Regions from separate parts of the Homo sapiens genome. Here regions 1, 3 and 4 are each linked to region 2. Evidence: promoter capture Hi-C in 16 types of primary human blood cells and fetal thymus (Javierre and others, 2016). All regions are on one chromosome and are shown on one strand. The core of a region is centred on a gene start or on the middle of the fragment in contact, and the rest is flanking DNA. Distances in the headings are between cores, read along the strand shown.

What was found. The method cuts DNA at HindIII sites, captures the fragments that hold promoters and counts their contacts. A CHiCAGO score of 5 or more calls a contact.
Region 1: a fragment that was not itself captured here is called in contact with the fragment with the promoter of TFAP2A-AS1 in region 2 in 1 of 17 cell types (M0 macrophages); the score reaches 5.1 in M0 macrophages.
Region 3: a contact is called between a fragment that was not itself captured here and the fragment with the promoter of TFAP2A-AS1 in region 2, in 1 of 17 cell types (naive CD4 T cells). The highest score is 8.0, in naive CD4 T cells.
Region 4: a contact is called between the fragment with the promoter of BMP6 here and the fragment with the promoter of TFAP2A-AS1 in region 2, in 1 of 17 cell types (total CD4 T cells). The highest score is 6.6, in total CD4 T cells.

Annotation. Positions count from the first base shown.
Region 1 is chr6:8,127,953-8,131,690 of GRCh38, forward strand. No RefSeq gene overlaps it. Among named protein-coding and RNA genes, the nearest start is that of EEF1E1-BLOC1S5, 27 kb to the left of the region's middle. RefSeq lists an enhancer at 3,390-3,439. The HindIII fragment of the contact is 1,330 bases long and covers 1,410-2,739 here.
Region 2 is chr6:10,410,570-10,414,296 of GRCh38, forward strand. TFAP2A-AS1 (TFAP2A antisense RNA 1) reads left to right here and starts at 1,749. Exons shown (of 3, transcript NR_033910.1): 1 at 1,749-1,798. The region is part of intron 1 of TFAP2A (transcription factor AP-2 alpha); the gene reads right to left. RefSeq lists a silencer at 1,989-2,348. The HindIII fragment of the contact is 20,769 bases long and covers 1-3,727 here.
Region 3 is chr6:8,105,977-8,109,634 of GRCh38, forward strand. No RefSeq gene overlaps it. Among named protein-coding and RNA genes, the nearest start is that of EEF1E1-BLOC1S5, 5.2 kb to the left of the region's middle. RefSeq lists a silencer at 3,157-3,349. The HindIII fragment of the contact is 4,957 bases long and covers 1-3,658 here.
Region 4 is chr6:7,723,653-7,727,605 of GRCh38, forward strand. BMP6 (bone morphogenetic protein 6) reads left to right here and starts at 2,447. Exons shown (of 7, transcript NM_001718.6): 1 at 2,447-3,953. The coding sequence starts at 3,304. The HindIII fragment of the contact is 3,909 bases long and covers 2,172-3,953 here.

The DNA.
Region 1 (3,738 bases), core at 825-3,324, 2.3 Mb before region 2:
GGTGATTCTTGGCTATAGTTGGCTTCAGGTGTGGTTGGATGTGCAGTGATTTTGTGTACTTGAGGCCCTCTATCTTTTTTTTTTTTCTTTTTTTTGAGATGGAATCTCACTCTGTCACCCAGGCTGGAGTCAGTGGCACGATCTCGGCCCACTGCAACCTCCGCCTCTAGGGTTCAAGCGATTCTCCTGCCTCAGCCTCCTGAGTAACTGGGACTACAGGTGCCCGCCACCATGCCTGGCTAATTTTTTTGTATTTTTAGTAGAGACGGGGTTTCACTATATTGGCCAGGCTGGTCTGGAACTCCTGACCTCGTGGTCTGCCCACCTCAGCCTCCCAAAGTGCTGGGATTATAGGCATGAGCCACTGCGCCTGGCCCGAGGCCCTCTATCTTTGTTCTACCCTTAGCTGGGACCCAAGAGCAGCATGGCAGATGGGGAAAAGCCTGGTATCAAAGCCCAGGCTCCCTGTGGCATTCCCTTCCCTACCACATACTAGGAGTGTAGCCTGGATGAAGCTACTTCACATCTCTGTGTTCCAGCGTTTCAACTGTAAAATGGACTATTTCTAAAATAGTACTACACACCTGTAAAGTTAGTCATGAGGGCTAAAGGAGTTAATGTAAGTAGAGCACTTAGAACAGAGCCTGGCACCTAAGAAAGCGCTGTAGAAATGTTAGCATTATTAGTGGGCTGGATCAACCCACTCTGTCCCTCCATGGGGTGAGCATCCTGTTGGGATCTGCTGGGGCATTCCTGTCTGCAAATGGAATTGTGAGGTGGTTCAGTGAAGCTGCAGTTTCATTTAATTCCTGAAAAGGACTGGCACCAGGCCACTTTGAGCAGTGAAGTTGGTCTTCAGTAGTATTTGGTTCTTCCCATCAGTTTTTGAGTCTTATTCTTCTCTTTGTCCCAGTTGGCCAATGTCTTGCTGATCCAGATCCTGACAACAATGACAATGGGATGGGTCCACGCCTATCAGAACCAACACATACATAGTTCCAGTTTCTCATTATACTTTTTTTTTTTTTTTTTTTGAGGCAGAGTCTTCCTGTGTCGCCCAGGCTGGAGTGCAATGGTGCAATCTTGGCTCACTGCAACCTCTGCCTCCCAGGTTCAAGCAATTCTCTTGCCTCAGCCTCCCGAGTAGCTTGGACTACAGGCGCGTGCCACCACACCCGGCTAATTTTTTGTATTTTTAGTAGAGATGGGGTTTCACCGTGTTAGCCAGGATGTTTCATTTTACTTTAAATGTATCCAACCAAAGATCCATCCATCCACCCACCCACCCACTCACCCATCCATCCATCTATCGGTCCATCCGACAAACATTTATGGAGCAACTCCTACCTGCTAGGCAAATTCGAGGCATTGGGAAATGCTAGGAAATGGCATCATTTCTGTCTTCAAGAAGCTTGACATTGATATTGGGTTAATCCACAGGAAATGACACGAAATGCCGAGAAGTCTGGCATTTTGATAGGCTGCTAAGAGAGATATTTATGTCTTTTTCAGGGGCTATTTCAAAACCTTTACATGGTAACACGAAAAGCACCCTCTACTTATTTAAAGACATGATTTCTTATACAGGTATTTAAAAAGAGCATGAAGCTGGGACATTCTAAGAGCCAAGAAGTTAGGAAGGCAGTGAAAGGGGAGTAGGTATCGTGGATAAAAGTTAGAAGTTTAGGTAAAAATTGTGTGTCATAAGCTCTGCAGCTGGGACTTACCTGTCCTGCCCAAAACGAGCCAATAGTTGTGCACCAAGGCTCCTCAGCACAGCATGAGGACGAGGTGATGATCAGATCCTTCTTTCTGGCTGCAGGACCCAGGGTGCTATTGCTGCAGCTGGCGAGGATGATCACAGCACTGTCCAGACATCTCCAATGAGTAAGGCACCTGTCCGATGGTGCTGCAATGCTCATTCTATTTCCAGCAAGTTATTAGAAAAATGTGCGTAATCATTGTGTAAAATGCCAGCAGAGTTACCTTTGTGTGGTTTTTCTCACTTGAGATCTCAAAGTCAAGTCAAAATTCTTGAGGGGCTGTCCTTGTCCTTGGTAGCTGGATTCCCATCTCATTCAGTCCAATGTCTCCCACTACTTTCCAATGTGCAGCTTGGTTCTGTCAAGCTGCTCTCATTCTTCCTCACTAAAAATGACCGAATTCCCTTGGCCAGGTGTGGTAGCTCACACCTGTAATCCCAGCACTTTGGGAGGCCGAGGCGGGTGGATCATGAGATCATGAGATCAGGAGTTGGCGACCAGCCTGACCAACATGATGAAACCCTGCCTCTACTAAAAATACAAAAATTAGCCTGCAATCCCAGCTACTCAGGAGGCTGAGGCAGGAGAATTGCTTGAACCCAGGAGGTGGAGGTGAGCCAAGATCATGCCACTGCACTCCAGTTTGGGCAACAGAGTGAGACTCTGTCTCAAAAAAACAAAACAAAACAAAACAAAACAACCTCATTTCCACCTCGAGGCTTTCACTCCCCCTTCTCCCCCTTGATTAGTTACTTCTTTTTCCTTTCTCCCATACTTTTCTGGCTCCACTTAAAACTTCTTCAGTGAAGCATTCCAGAATTGCTTCACATCCTTTAATAACCTCTATTTCCCCCTGTGAATTTCCAGGCTACTGTGCACATAATTTGGATTACACAATTTAGTCTTTGATTACATATTGCATTGCAACGCTGGCTAGTTATTTTATGTGCTGGTGTGGTTAACTGATCGAGTAGGAAGCTTCCTGCTCCTTTCCTGCACATGTCCCGGCACCCAGCACAGTGCTGAGGATATAGTAGGTATCCAACGTTTGTACCAGTACATCTAGTATATACATTATTGCAGGTATGGATCCCAGCTTTTCAAAGTCTGAAGCTTATACAATTTGAAGAAGCCTTTTCCTGAAAGGAAAAGAAAAAGACTACAAGATGACGAATAAAAAATCAGGAGCCAAAATGAATATTTCGTGAATACATCGCCAAGGCCGCATTTTGGGGAAGAAGTCTTCACAGGAGAGAGACTCTGGAGCTCCAGCAGCTCTGAAATGGACAAATCTAGAGGTGTTTTTGGTCTTCACAATCCGTCTTCTCCATCTGTCACATACAAACTGAACATCAGGCCTCATTCTCTCTCCCAATGGCGAACCTTCCCTACCTTGGTAAACTGGCAAGGACCTCCCCTGATTTAGTCTGCGCCAGCTCATAGGACTGGGTGTGTAATTGCTAGGGAGGAAAATGGTGGTTGACAATTAAGCATCAACAGTGTCATTGATCTTTTGGGGAAGAGAAGAGGAGCTTGTAACAGCCAAAGTATCTACACATTTTTGTATTGTGTATTTATTCTATAAATGTATTTATGCCTTATATGGCATATGTCATTTAAACTGGAACAGGCAGAGTGTCAAGAGGCCAGGGCTGTATATTTATCATCTGAGCACGGTGCAGGGGGCTGAGCCATTTCCTCTCCATCTAAGCTGTTTTTTGGAATCTGACCAGCTGGTGTCACTATGGGACCGTGAATACAGGCATCTTCAGAGCTCTAGGAGTAGAAGAATTTTGGATTGGCGTTGTGGCCCTGGGAAAGGTAACCTTCCTCCCACCCAGCACGAGCCTCCGCCCGACCTCCTCTCTCCCTGTGCCTGCATAGTTTATAAAATTGAGAACTAGCGGACGGATTTAATTTTGATGGAGAATTACCTGTAGGCAAGAGGGCAATCAAACCCATACTGTTAAGGGGC
Region 2 (3,727 bases), core at 499-2,998:
TCAAAGAGAGGAAAAGATAGAAAAGGGTCTCCTGGAACACAGCCCATTAAACTGCAGCGTGAAATCTCTCTTAAGCAAAATTAAAATTCCTCCTAAATACTAAACAGCAGAAGCGGCCTTTTCTTTTCCCCCGATTTGAACCTGTCTGCCACTGCGTTATTGTTTATTCTCTTCCATTTATTTGGAGAGAAAAAAATCATAAACGTTCAAAGACTGTTACCGTTTCATGACTACTTAAATAGAAACATATTTCGCAGAGGGGCTGTAACAAAAACACACGTTTAAATTACCAGCTTAAAGAAGGTTTTAACTGCAGGATCGGGGTCTGTCTTTTTCGCTTCCTCTGTTAGGAGCCTTTTTCTCGACAGAGTCGATTTATGGTTTGGATAGGGAAAGGGGGACGTCAAGTCAAGGTTTAAAATAGAAAGATTCAGCCTTATTGGGTTTAAAAGAGAGAGGTGCACCCCGGGGCTGTGGCCCCCCCCCCCCGCCCCTTCCACCCCAGCCCCAAAGGGCAGAAGAAACGCCTGACTTTAGGTTTCTCTATTGCAATTCCCTTGCAAAACAAGCGAAGAGAGTTGATTCCAGAGACCGCGAACCCTCGGCGGTTCGGCCGCAGGTCCCGAGGGTAGGGGGCACACCGCGCTGCACTTTTCCTGCAGACAGTTTAAGCATCAAATGTTGAGAACATCTCGGGGACAAGTGAAGACTCAAGGAAATCAAGATGAACGTGGGGAGAAACACGCCTTGGGAAGCCGCGGCGAGGTAGGTCTGCGTGCTCGGAGAGGTCGAGCGGGGGCTGGGGTAGGGGGTAATGCACTCGATTTAGGGATGGAAAAGAGCGAGAGAAAGGCGGAAGGTGGGGTGGGGGATGCAAATGGAGAGGGTGTCCTGAAGGAAAGCTGGGCGTGAAACCCGAGGTTTCGGGCAGCTCCACGGCACCAGGTTTCCAGAATCCAATTCCTAAAGAAACAGCAACGGGGGTGGGGATGGGACTCACCATGGCTGAAAAACTGTGAACTAACATCTGCGAAGAGTCTGGGGTAACGAGTCAGGGTGGAAAAAAACAAGCAAGCCTGGAGCGCCCGGCTGCCCCGCCGCCCGAGCGCGCCCCACACAAAAGGCGCCGAGAGCCCCGCGCCACCCAGGACTCCAGTCACGGCGCCGACGCTCCCCGGAGCGCGGGAGCCCGGCTCGGATCCATCCGAACTTGAACCACCGATTCGCGCGGCGCCTTCAGCTGGTCGAACCCACGGTCTCTATCCTGCCGCGACTGGTTATGATTCAAAGTTCTTTAAAAATGAAAAACCCCAAAAAAGGAAAAAGGAAAAAGTATGTGTGAGTGTGTGGGTGCGTGCGTGTTCCTTAATCCGTGTCTCCCCCTCTTTTCTTAGCGGCGGCTTCGCTTGAGCTTCTAATAACCGCGCTGGGCAGCGTTCCTGGAGCCTCCTAATAGCAGATATTCATGACTATTAATATTACACGAATACTTAATAAGGGAAGAATGCCTGGAAATCGAGCGTGAAGCGGAGAGGCAACTCGCGCCGGAGCCGGCTCTCAATGCAGTCCATTGACGGGAGTCTCAGTGTAGCAAATCGGAGTGGGGAGAGGGAGCGCGAGAGACAAAAAGCGAGCGAGAGAGGGAGCGGGCGAGCGCGCGGGGGGCCGCGGCGCGGCGTCTGGCGAATCACAGGGAAGGGGCAACATTTTAAAAGGTTGCAGGGCATGCAAAAGTGAAAGAGAAAGAGGCAGAGAGGGAGACCGAAGGAGAGAGCGCAGAGAGGGAGAATGTGTCTGCGTGCGTGTGTGAGAAAGAAAGTGTGGGCGAGGGAGAGGAGCCCCGGGTGGGGAGAGGGGAGGGAGGGAAGGAGGGAGAGCCCGAGAGGAGGAAGGGAGGGAAAGAGGGAGGGAGGAAGGGAGGGAGGGAGGGGGAGGGGGCCCAGCCGGAGCGCACGGAGGGGGAGGCCGCGGGGGAGGGGGAAGGGGAGAGGAAGCGAGCGAGGACAATCAGACCTAAAAGGCTGGGGCAGACCTCGGGATGCAGCGGGGGTCGTGCGTAGCGGGTAGGAGCTGCTTGGGACCGCGTCCGGGCGCTCGTGGGGCTCTCGGCGCGGCAGGCGCTTCCCGGCCCTGTCTGGCCGCGGGCTCCGCCGCTTCGCAGCCGAGTCTGGGACTCGGGACTCGGCTGCCCGCTGCTGCGCGGCTCCTCCATGACCCGGCGCCCTGCCCGGGACCGGCCCGCTCGCTGCACTGGTCCTCTCCTCGGCCTCCTCTTGAGCTTTCCTCGGACAGGGGCACCGTGCGCTCCCCGGCCACCGTCGCTCTGCCCTCGGCTCTCTGGGGCCGGGGATTCCGGATCGGGAGCCGGGATGCGGGCCGGGGCGCGCACAGACGCTAGGCGGCCCAGCCCGGGCGCCGCTGGCACCGGCTCGCGGCTCCCGGCAAAAACCCGTCCGACTGGCTGGGCCACTCCCGCCTGACGCCCCCCCAGATGACACGACTAGCTCTCCCGGCGTGCTGCCTTTGCCAGTCTACCCGCCAGGTTGTCAGAACAAGCGGCACCTCGCCTCCTGCGTGTCCCTACAGAGCCCCGGCACAATCAGACTGCCCCAAGCCAGCTCCGAAACCCGAAATCCCCGCTCCGGCGCTTGCCCACCACGGCCAAAGTTGTGGAAACAGCTTTGACTTTATTCTCCTCTCTCTCTCATCTTTTTTTGCCTCGCTTACACACGCATTCACACTTGCCCCCACAGGATCCCTCTAGGGGTGCAAGTTCATCCCCCACCTAGCCACCCACCCCATCCAGTCGGCACCTAGAGCCGCACGGAGGTTCGGACCCCGCCCGCCGAGGGCGCCCACACCTGGAGCTGGGTTTCGGCCTCTGCGAAAGTGAAATGCCCAAGCCTCCGGCCAAAGCCCAGACCAGTACAGTATGAATTGTCCTATGAGACTGAGGGGTTCGGCTTCATTCCTACCTGCCCGCAAAGCTCGCCCCCAGCCTCGAAAACAAAGCGACTGGTCTGACGTGGGGTCCCTGCGCCCCTCCTCTAGCGCGACAGGACCCCCCCAGGGAAGAGCCAGTACCCGTGGGATGTCACCCCGTCCCCATCTACCGGGGTGGGGGGCCTGAAAGGAGAACGATTTAAAATAATCTTCAGAAAGAAAAGGGAGGAGGGAGCGGGTGACACATCGTTCACATAAACCCAATTTCTGGTTTCGAGTGAAGTCAAGATCTCCGCCCCTGCGCCTGCACACACACCTCCTGCCTAACATTCTCAGCTGCAAATGCCAAAAAAGAAAAAAAAAAAAAACAGCAAAAGTTGGGACTGCCACCTATTTATTTAGGTAATCTCCAGCCCTACACACCCCAACCCCTCTCTCGGACTCATTGCTCATTACAGTGTTGGTTGTAACCGTTCCCAGCGCCTCCTGCGGGTGGACAGGTCGCGCTAGGGTCTCCCTTGCTGCCTCAAGAAGGCGAGCTCAGGGGACTCTGCGTTTTAAAATGGGTTCCAAAGCGGCGCGCTCTGTCGGCCCAGCGGGCTTGCGGCACCAGAGGTGGTCTGCAGCCGCGCAAGGATTCCCACGGTCGTTCTGGGCTGGTGCAGAAGCTGGTGCTCCCGCACCCAGCGGCCAGCAGGCTCGGCGCAGCACATCTCCCCACCCCACCCCCACACACCCCCGTGGGGTGCGTCGATCCTGTAGCTCAGAGGGAGAAGCTACTTAG
Region 3 (3,658 bases), core at 925-3,424, 2.3 Mb before region 2:
AGCTGCATATGCCAGAAACTGTTACTGTATCAGATTGCTCTTAGCAGTGCCATCATCTGCAAATTTTCAGTTTTAGAAGAGTTTAACTTTCTATTTCAGAATATGATAGGGTTTTAAACTTAGGTGTGAATGATATTAAATATGTGGTAAATGAAGTGATGCAGGTGCTATGCATGCATTTTGTTCTCTCTATAGATACCTCTCATATCTATGTATGTCTTGCACTTACCACGCTTGTTTATTGAGCCATTACTATGCACCAGGCACTGTACAATGCACTGGGGACACATTGATGAACAACTCCCATCAAACTTAGAGTATCTTGAGAGGAAAGACACTAGAACAATTTTGCGATAAGGCAAAGATCAGGAAGTGGAAGGCATGATAAGAATGCAGAGAAGGCACCTGGCCAGGCGCGGTGGCTCACACCTGTAATCCCAGCACTTTGGGAGGCTGAGTTGGGTAGATCACGAGGTCAGGAGTTCAAGACCAGCCTGGTCAAGATGGTGAAACCCCATCTCTACTAAAAATACAAAAATTAGCCAGCTGTGGTGGTGGTGGGCACCTGTAATCCCAGCTCCTCAGGAGGGTGAGGCAGAGAATTGCTTGAACCTGGGAGGTGGAGGTTGCAGTGAGCCAAGATTGTGCCACTGTACTCCAGCCCGAGCAACAGAGTGAGACTCCATCTCAAAAAAAAAGATTGCTTCCAAGAGGTCATGGTGTTCAAGTTGAGACTTGAAGGATGAACAAGAGTTGGTCAGGTGAGTGGTGGGGTGGAAAACTGAGGGAGAGTTCTGAGCAATGGGAATTGCATATGCAAAGGCTGCAAAGTGGAAGAGAGCATGATTCTTTGGAGTAACTGTTCAGGCTAGACCGGTAAGCAGATGCTGGATTGGAAGGGTCCTTGAACGATGCCTCTAAAAATTTTTAGAGGCCTCTGGGCATCCTTTATTTTTGATGGTTAATTTTATGTGTCACCTTGACTGGGCTTCAGGATGCCTGGATATCTGGTAATACATCATTTCTGGGTGTGTCTGTCAGGGTGTTTCCAGAAATGATGAGCATTTAAGTTGGTGGACTGAATGAAGATGATCACCCTCACCAGCGTGGGTGGGCATCATCCCGTCTGTGAGGACCTGGATAAAACAAAAGTATGAGGGAAGGTGATATTTACTCCTGACCTGACTGCTGAGCTGGAACACTGATCTTCTCTTGCCCATGGTGCTCCTGGTTCTCAAGTCTTCAAACTCAGATGGGAATCTTTACCATTGCTGTCCAGCTCCCAGGCTTTTGAATGGTACCACCATGTATTAGTCCATTTTCACGCTGCTGATAAAGACATACCTGAGACTGGGCAATTTACAAGAGGAAGAGGTTTATGGGACTTACGATTCTGCGTGGCTGGAGAGCCTTCACAATCATGGTGGAAGGTGTAAGGCACATCTCATGTGGCGGCAGACAAGAGAAGAGAACTTGTGCAGGGAAGCTCCCATTTTTAAAACCATCACATCTCATGAGACTTATTCACTGTCATGAGACCAGCATGGGAAAGACACACCCCTATGATTCAATAACCTCCAACCAGGTTCCTCCCACAACACGTGGGAATTGTGAGAGTTACAATTCAAGATGAGATTTGGGTGGGGACACAGCCAAACCATATCACAGCATCTTTCCTGGGTCTCTAACTTCCAGACAGCAGATCACTGGACTTCTCAGCCTCCATAATTGTGTGAGCCAATTCTTATCTACAATCATTTATATACACCTATCTCTATGCGGAGGACAGAGTCTTGCTATGTCACCCAGGCTGGAGTGCAATGGTGTGATCTCATCTCACTGCAAACTCTGCCTCCCAGGTTCAAGCGATTCTCCTACCTCAGACTCCTGAGTAGCTGGGATTATAGGCACGCACCACCACGCCCAGCTAATTTTTTGTATTTTTTAGTAGAGACAGGGTTTCACCATGTTGGCCAGGCTGGTCTTGAACTCCTGACCTCGTGATCCACCCACCTTGGCCTTCCAAAGTGCTGGGATTACAGGTGTGAGCCACCATGCCTGGCCTCAGGTGATCTTTCTTAGCTGCCAATCTATTTGGTCACTCCTTCCAGAAAACATGCCTGTGGCTCTTCATGGCACTTAGAATTTAGTCCAGCCTCCTTTATCTGGGAGCTAAGGTCCTTTATAACCTGACCTCTGTTGACTTTTTCATGCTCACTTCTAGACACTTCCTGCCTGGCATTTTTTGCCCCAGCCTTGGCCATCTCCTCACAGCTCCTGGGAGCCCAAAATATTCTCTTGCCTCTGGGCCTTTCTGTCTCTGGTTCACTCCAGCAGGAATGCCCCGCTTCCTCTCTTAGGGCTGAATTTGAGCACTCATAACAGCCTTGGGAATGCTCCTGCCACAAGACAGACCCCACTGTGCTGAGGCTACCTTCTTGGTATCTGCCTGCCCTGGCCGGCATGCTGACTGAGCACACAGACTGCATCCTGTTTATTACTGAGTCATCGCACCAGGCACCAGCCTTGGAACAGAGTGATCACTGGATACATTCATTTGCCGAATGAATAAAGAATCATGCAAACATATGGAATGATGTGGAAAGCTAGGTCAATGGGTCAAAACAAGTAACATGAGAACTGTGAGGATATTACACAGTCTCATCTTTAAGCAAACATTAAACACCAAAAATTAAAAATCCCTTATCTGACGGTTGACCAGTGCAAATGAAAATGACTCAAAACTACAAGTCAGGAATGGACAACCAATGTACTGAAAGAAAAATCATTTTCTTTCGCTAGTCTCCCAAACATTCATTGATCCCCCAAACCACCTTCTCTGGGCTCAGGAAGTGGCCATTTATTACATTATCACCATCATCATCGCCATCGTCCTCATTCTCCTCCCTCTCGGCATCCGGCTGTCAAACACTTACTGATCACTGCTCTGTGCTGGACTCTGTTCTAAGCTCTTGTATTAACTCATGAATTATCACACCAGCCTTTGAAGCAGATACCATTGTTATCCCCATTTTATAGATGAGGAAATTGAGGCTCCAAGAAGTGTAAGAAAATGAATCTTCAGAGCATTACAGATAGAGAAATACCTTAGAAAAGAACAAAGTATCCCCCAGATTTTGAGTCCTGCCCCGACATCCTCTCTATAGCCTCCTAATTCTCCGACTCAGCGGCGACTCAATTTAGAACTCCAGGCTCATCTTGGGGGACTCCAGTTCATCAAGGCTTGGGTGGATCTTGGCTTGAGAGCCATGCTGGGGACCCTGCTGCACAGTGTCACTGAGATTGTTGCAGAGGAGGTGTGAGAGAGGAGCTGTCAGCACAGCTCCAACCACAGCCCTGGGGACAATGACAGCAGAGTCACAGGATTTTTAGCAGCAGAACGTCTTCTCCACACTCCCTGGAGGAAGGCTCAAGGGCGGAGCATGTCCTCGGTGCCACCCTTCAGGTGAAGAGTCAGCCTGGGGCCAGCATGCTGGTGACAGGCTAATTCTTTCTGTTCAAGAGCAGCACAGGCCATTGAAGGGACATGTGCCCCGAGAACTACTTCCTTTCAGACTCTGCTCAGGGTCACCTTCTCTCTGCAGACTTTCCTAATCCCTTCCTATCCTCACCCCCAACCCAGGCAGCGCTGGTCACT
Region 4 (3,953 bases), core at 1,197-3,696, 2.7 Mb before region 2:
CACTGCACAGTTTTTTTAGGAGCTTCTTCTGGCTCTTAAGGGAGATGTGCGTTCTCATGTTCATCACCTGGAGGTACTCTCGACACCTCCTCATTCTAGCCCCATTCGACAGAAACTGAGAATCCATCTTGGTGGAGTGAGGAGCCTGCAACAGACCTGAATCAGAGTTGCTGCTCAGATGTTTAGTTGATAGTCACTTTAGACTCATGTCACATGAACCCATCTACTTCTTAGTGTCTAAGGAAAGGGAGAGATGGCGTGCGTGTGTGTGCATGTGTGTGTGTGTCTTCTGCACTAGGTCCACCCCATAGATGCATACACAAGTTGAGTATCCCTTATCCAAAGTGCTTGGGACCAGAAGTATTTCAAATTTCAGATTTTTAGATTTTGGAATATTTGCATATACATAATGAGATACCTTAGGGATGGGATCCAAGTCTAAACATGAAATTCATTTATGTTTCGTATATATCTCATATACATAGTCTGAAGGTAATTTAATACAATATTTCAAATGATTTTGTGGATGAAAATTTTGACTGTGTTTTGACCATGTCCCATCCTATGAGGTCAGGTGTGGAATTTTCCATCTGAGGCATCATGTCAGCTCTCAGAAATCTTTAGATTTTGGAGCATTTTGGATGTCAGATTTTTGGGTTAGGGATGCTCAACCTCTACAATAGGTGGGTCACCCCTCGATTTTGTGTTTTAAATGACATAGCCCCACCAAGGTGCCCTCATCCATGCTTGAAATGTTGAGTTTCCTGTGTCTTCCCCACTGCCCTCGTAGGTAGAAAGTCTTTTACTCTGCCTGCATCTCACCAGAAGTCTTATGAGGAAGGTGCAACTAGGTTTAAAAAAGGAGGCTCTTGGCAGGAAGCCTAGGTGTATTTGCTGGAATTTCAGATCTTCTGAGCAGAGCTCTTGGCTGCTGTGGGGCACTGCAGTGAATTTATGTCCCTAACATGTTCCCTACAGAAAAAAGAAGTGACAGGGCTCTTGAATTCTGAGGGTCCGGGCATCCCAGACAAAGTATCGTATTATCTTTTCGGATGGAAGAAATCCCTGTAGAGATGGTTAAAGACTGGCATTCACATAAGTTTTGTGCCCTGAAATTCATAGCTATCAGATATTTGTAGAAATAAAGACTCTTCTAAATGACCACTTGTGTCTGGGCCAAGGCAGAACTAGAAAGAAGGACTCAGTGGGTAGTTGGAGTCAGTGGTGGTCTCTATTTACCCATGAGAAATAGATTCTTGGAAATAGGATAGGAATGCTTATAAGATTTGGACCAACAGAAAGCCTATGATCTCATAAATTCATGAATCCCACAGTCTATAATCTATTTGACTTCACTCTCAAATGCCTAGGACCATTTGGACTAAGGCTGGCAAGTCAGAAAATTGCAGTTTTTATTTTCAACTCCACACAATTTTCACCAAGTAAAAAACCTTCATGTTTTACGTGAATTTGCTTCTACGATCCATAGATGACTGGATGTTCTCGGGCGGGGTAAAGGCAAATGAATTTGTGTCCTCATTGGCAAATGGTGTTGGTGGTGGTGTTATCTTGTCTAAAATCCACAGGAACCTGTGTTTCAGGACCCTGTCTATTGTCCTGACCATTCAGAATGCATGCCAAGCCCCTGCTCTTCCTGGAGTTATCTTTATCACCTCTCCTCAAGTTTTATCTTGCACCATATAAGTCACATTGTATTTCAATATTAAAATGCAACATTAATAGATAAGCTGGAGAATCAAGACATTTCCAAGAAGACAGGGGACGCCTTTTCTAATATATCGTCTGATTACACCCTCTTTCTTTTGGGTGCTAGCTTAAGAAGCCAAACCAAAGCACAAATGAACAGAGAAGTCAACACATCCGACCCCAAACCCTCAGGACGCTGGCTTGGGTTACATGTGGCCCTCTCTGTGGTCAGTTTGTGAGTAGCCTCCCCGGAGGGTGTGTCCCAACTTCCAGCAGCTGCCGTGGAAAGCCACGTGTCCGCTAAACGCCTACATTACATCAATAAGAGAAACTAAGGAAGGGATGGAAAAGCTATCATTTTTCTTTTCTTCCTCAGTTCTGGCAGTATAGTGATTTAATCGCTGTTATTATTTTTATTTAGTTAAAGCATCAACTTAGGCCTTTTAAATGATGGTAAAAGAGAAAGCTTCAGATCGGGGTATTGGTCAGATCATTCTTACTAGCGATGACCTCTTCGCCTTTGGCACCTCGCGGCTCTTCGCATGCCTCCAAGAATTCCCGGGTCTTGAAACCTACGCGCGGCGGAGGCGACGCCTCTCGGGAGAGGGAGGGTGAAAGAAGGGGCGGGGCTATTTAAATAGCCCGCGAGCTTCGCGTCCCCATTGGCTGCCAGCCTGTCGGTTACCGCGGGGCGGGGAGTCCCGGGGCTGGAGTGAGGTACCTGAGCCGGGCGCGCAGCAGAAAGCCCACGTTGGCCGCTGCGGGGAGCGCGGCGTGGAGAGGCGGGAGACCGAATTCCGGCGCCGCCGCCGCGGCCGCTGCTCGGTGCACTAGCCCCCTTCCTTCCCATCCTTTCTGCGAGCGGGTTTGCTGGGCAGCCGGGCGACCGCCGAACGGAAAGCAAGATCCTCGCCGCCTCCGCTTGAGGAGGCGTGCGGCGCGCGGAGATTTTGAGTGGGAGCGACGGTGCCCGAGAGCTCAGGGGCGCGGAGTTCGTGAGCGAGAAGGAAGTTAAACCTCGCGGAATAGACTGGCATTTCGGGACGCCTTGTCGCCGCAGCCTGGGCCCTGCAACGGGGTAAACTTCATGGTGGCCCTGCGATCTGGGGAGGGGCGTGCGCCACGGTGATGCCGGGCATCTCCCGCAGCTCGTGAGCGGCCCCGCTCCCCGCTGCCCCGGGTCCCACTCAGTCGCCAGGGAGAGCGCGGGGCAGCGCACGTGTGCGGCCAGCGAGGCCCAGAGTGACCGCGCCGCGACTCGCAGGAGCCAGGGCGCAGGCTGCAGTGCAGCCCGGACTCAGACGCACCTGGCCTGGACCGCGCGCCTCTAGAGACCTGCGCGAGGCTGTGAGGCTCCCCTTCCTCCCCTCCAAGCGGTTCTCCTGGTGATCGCCCCTTCGCCACCTCTCTAGCCTGGGCAACTGGGGGCGCCCCGGACGACCATGAGAGATAAGGACTGAGGGCCAGGAAGGGGAAGCGAGCCCGCCGAGAGGTGGCGGGGACTGCTCACGCCAAGGGCCACAGCGGCCGCGCTCCGGCCTCGCTCCGCCGCTCCACGCCTCGCGGGATCCGCGGGGGCAGCCCGGCCGGGCGGGGATGCCGGGGCTGGGGCGGAGGGCGCAGTGGCTGTGCTGGTGGTGGGGGCTGCTGTGCAGCTGCTGCGGGCCCCCGCCGCTGCGGCCGCCCTTGCCCGCTGCCGCGGCCGCCGCCGCCGGGGGGCAGCTGCTGGGGGACGGCGGGAGCCCCGGCCGCACGGAGCAGCCGCCGCCGTCGCCGCAGTCCTCCTCGGGCTTCCTGTACCGGCGGCTCAAGACGCAGGAGAAGCGGGAGATGCAGAAGGAGATCTTGTCGGTGCTGGGGCTCCCGCACCGGCCCCGGCCCCTGCACGGCCTCCAACAGCCGCAGCCCCCGGCGCTCCGGCAGCAGGAGGAGCAGCAGCAGCAGCAGCAGCTGCCTCGCGGAGAGCCCCCTCCCGGGCGACTGAAGTCCGCGCCCCTCTTCATGCTGGATCTGTACAACGCCCTGTCCGCCGACAACGACGAGGACGGGGCGTCGGAGGGGGAGAGGCAGCAGTCCTGGCCCCACGAAGCAGCCAGCTCGTCCCAGCGTCGGCAGCCGCCCCCGGGCGCCGCGCACCCGCTCAACCGCAAGAGCCTTCTGGCCCCCGGATCTGGCAGCGGCGGCGCGTCCCCACTGACCAGCGCGCAGGACAGCGCCTTCCTCAACGACGCGGACATGGTCATGAG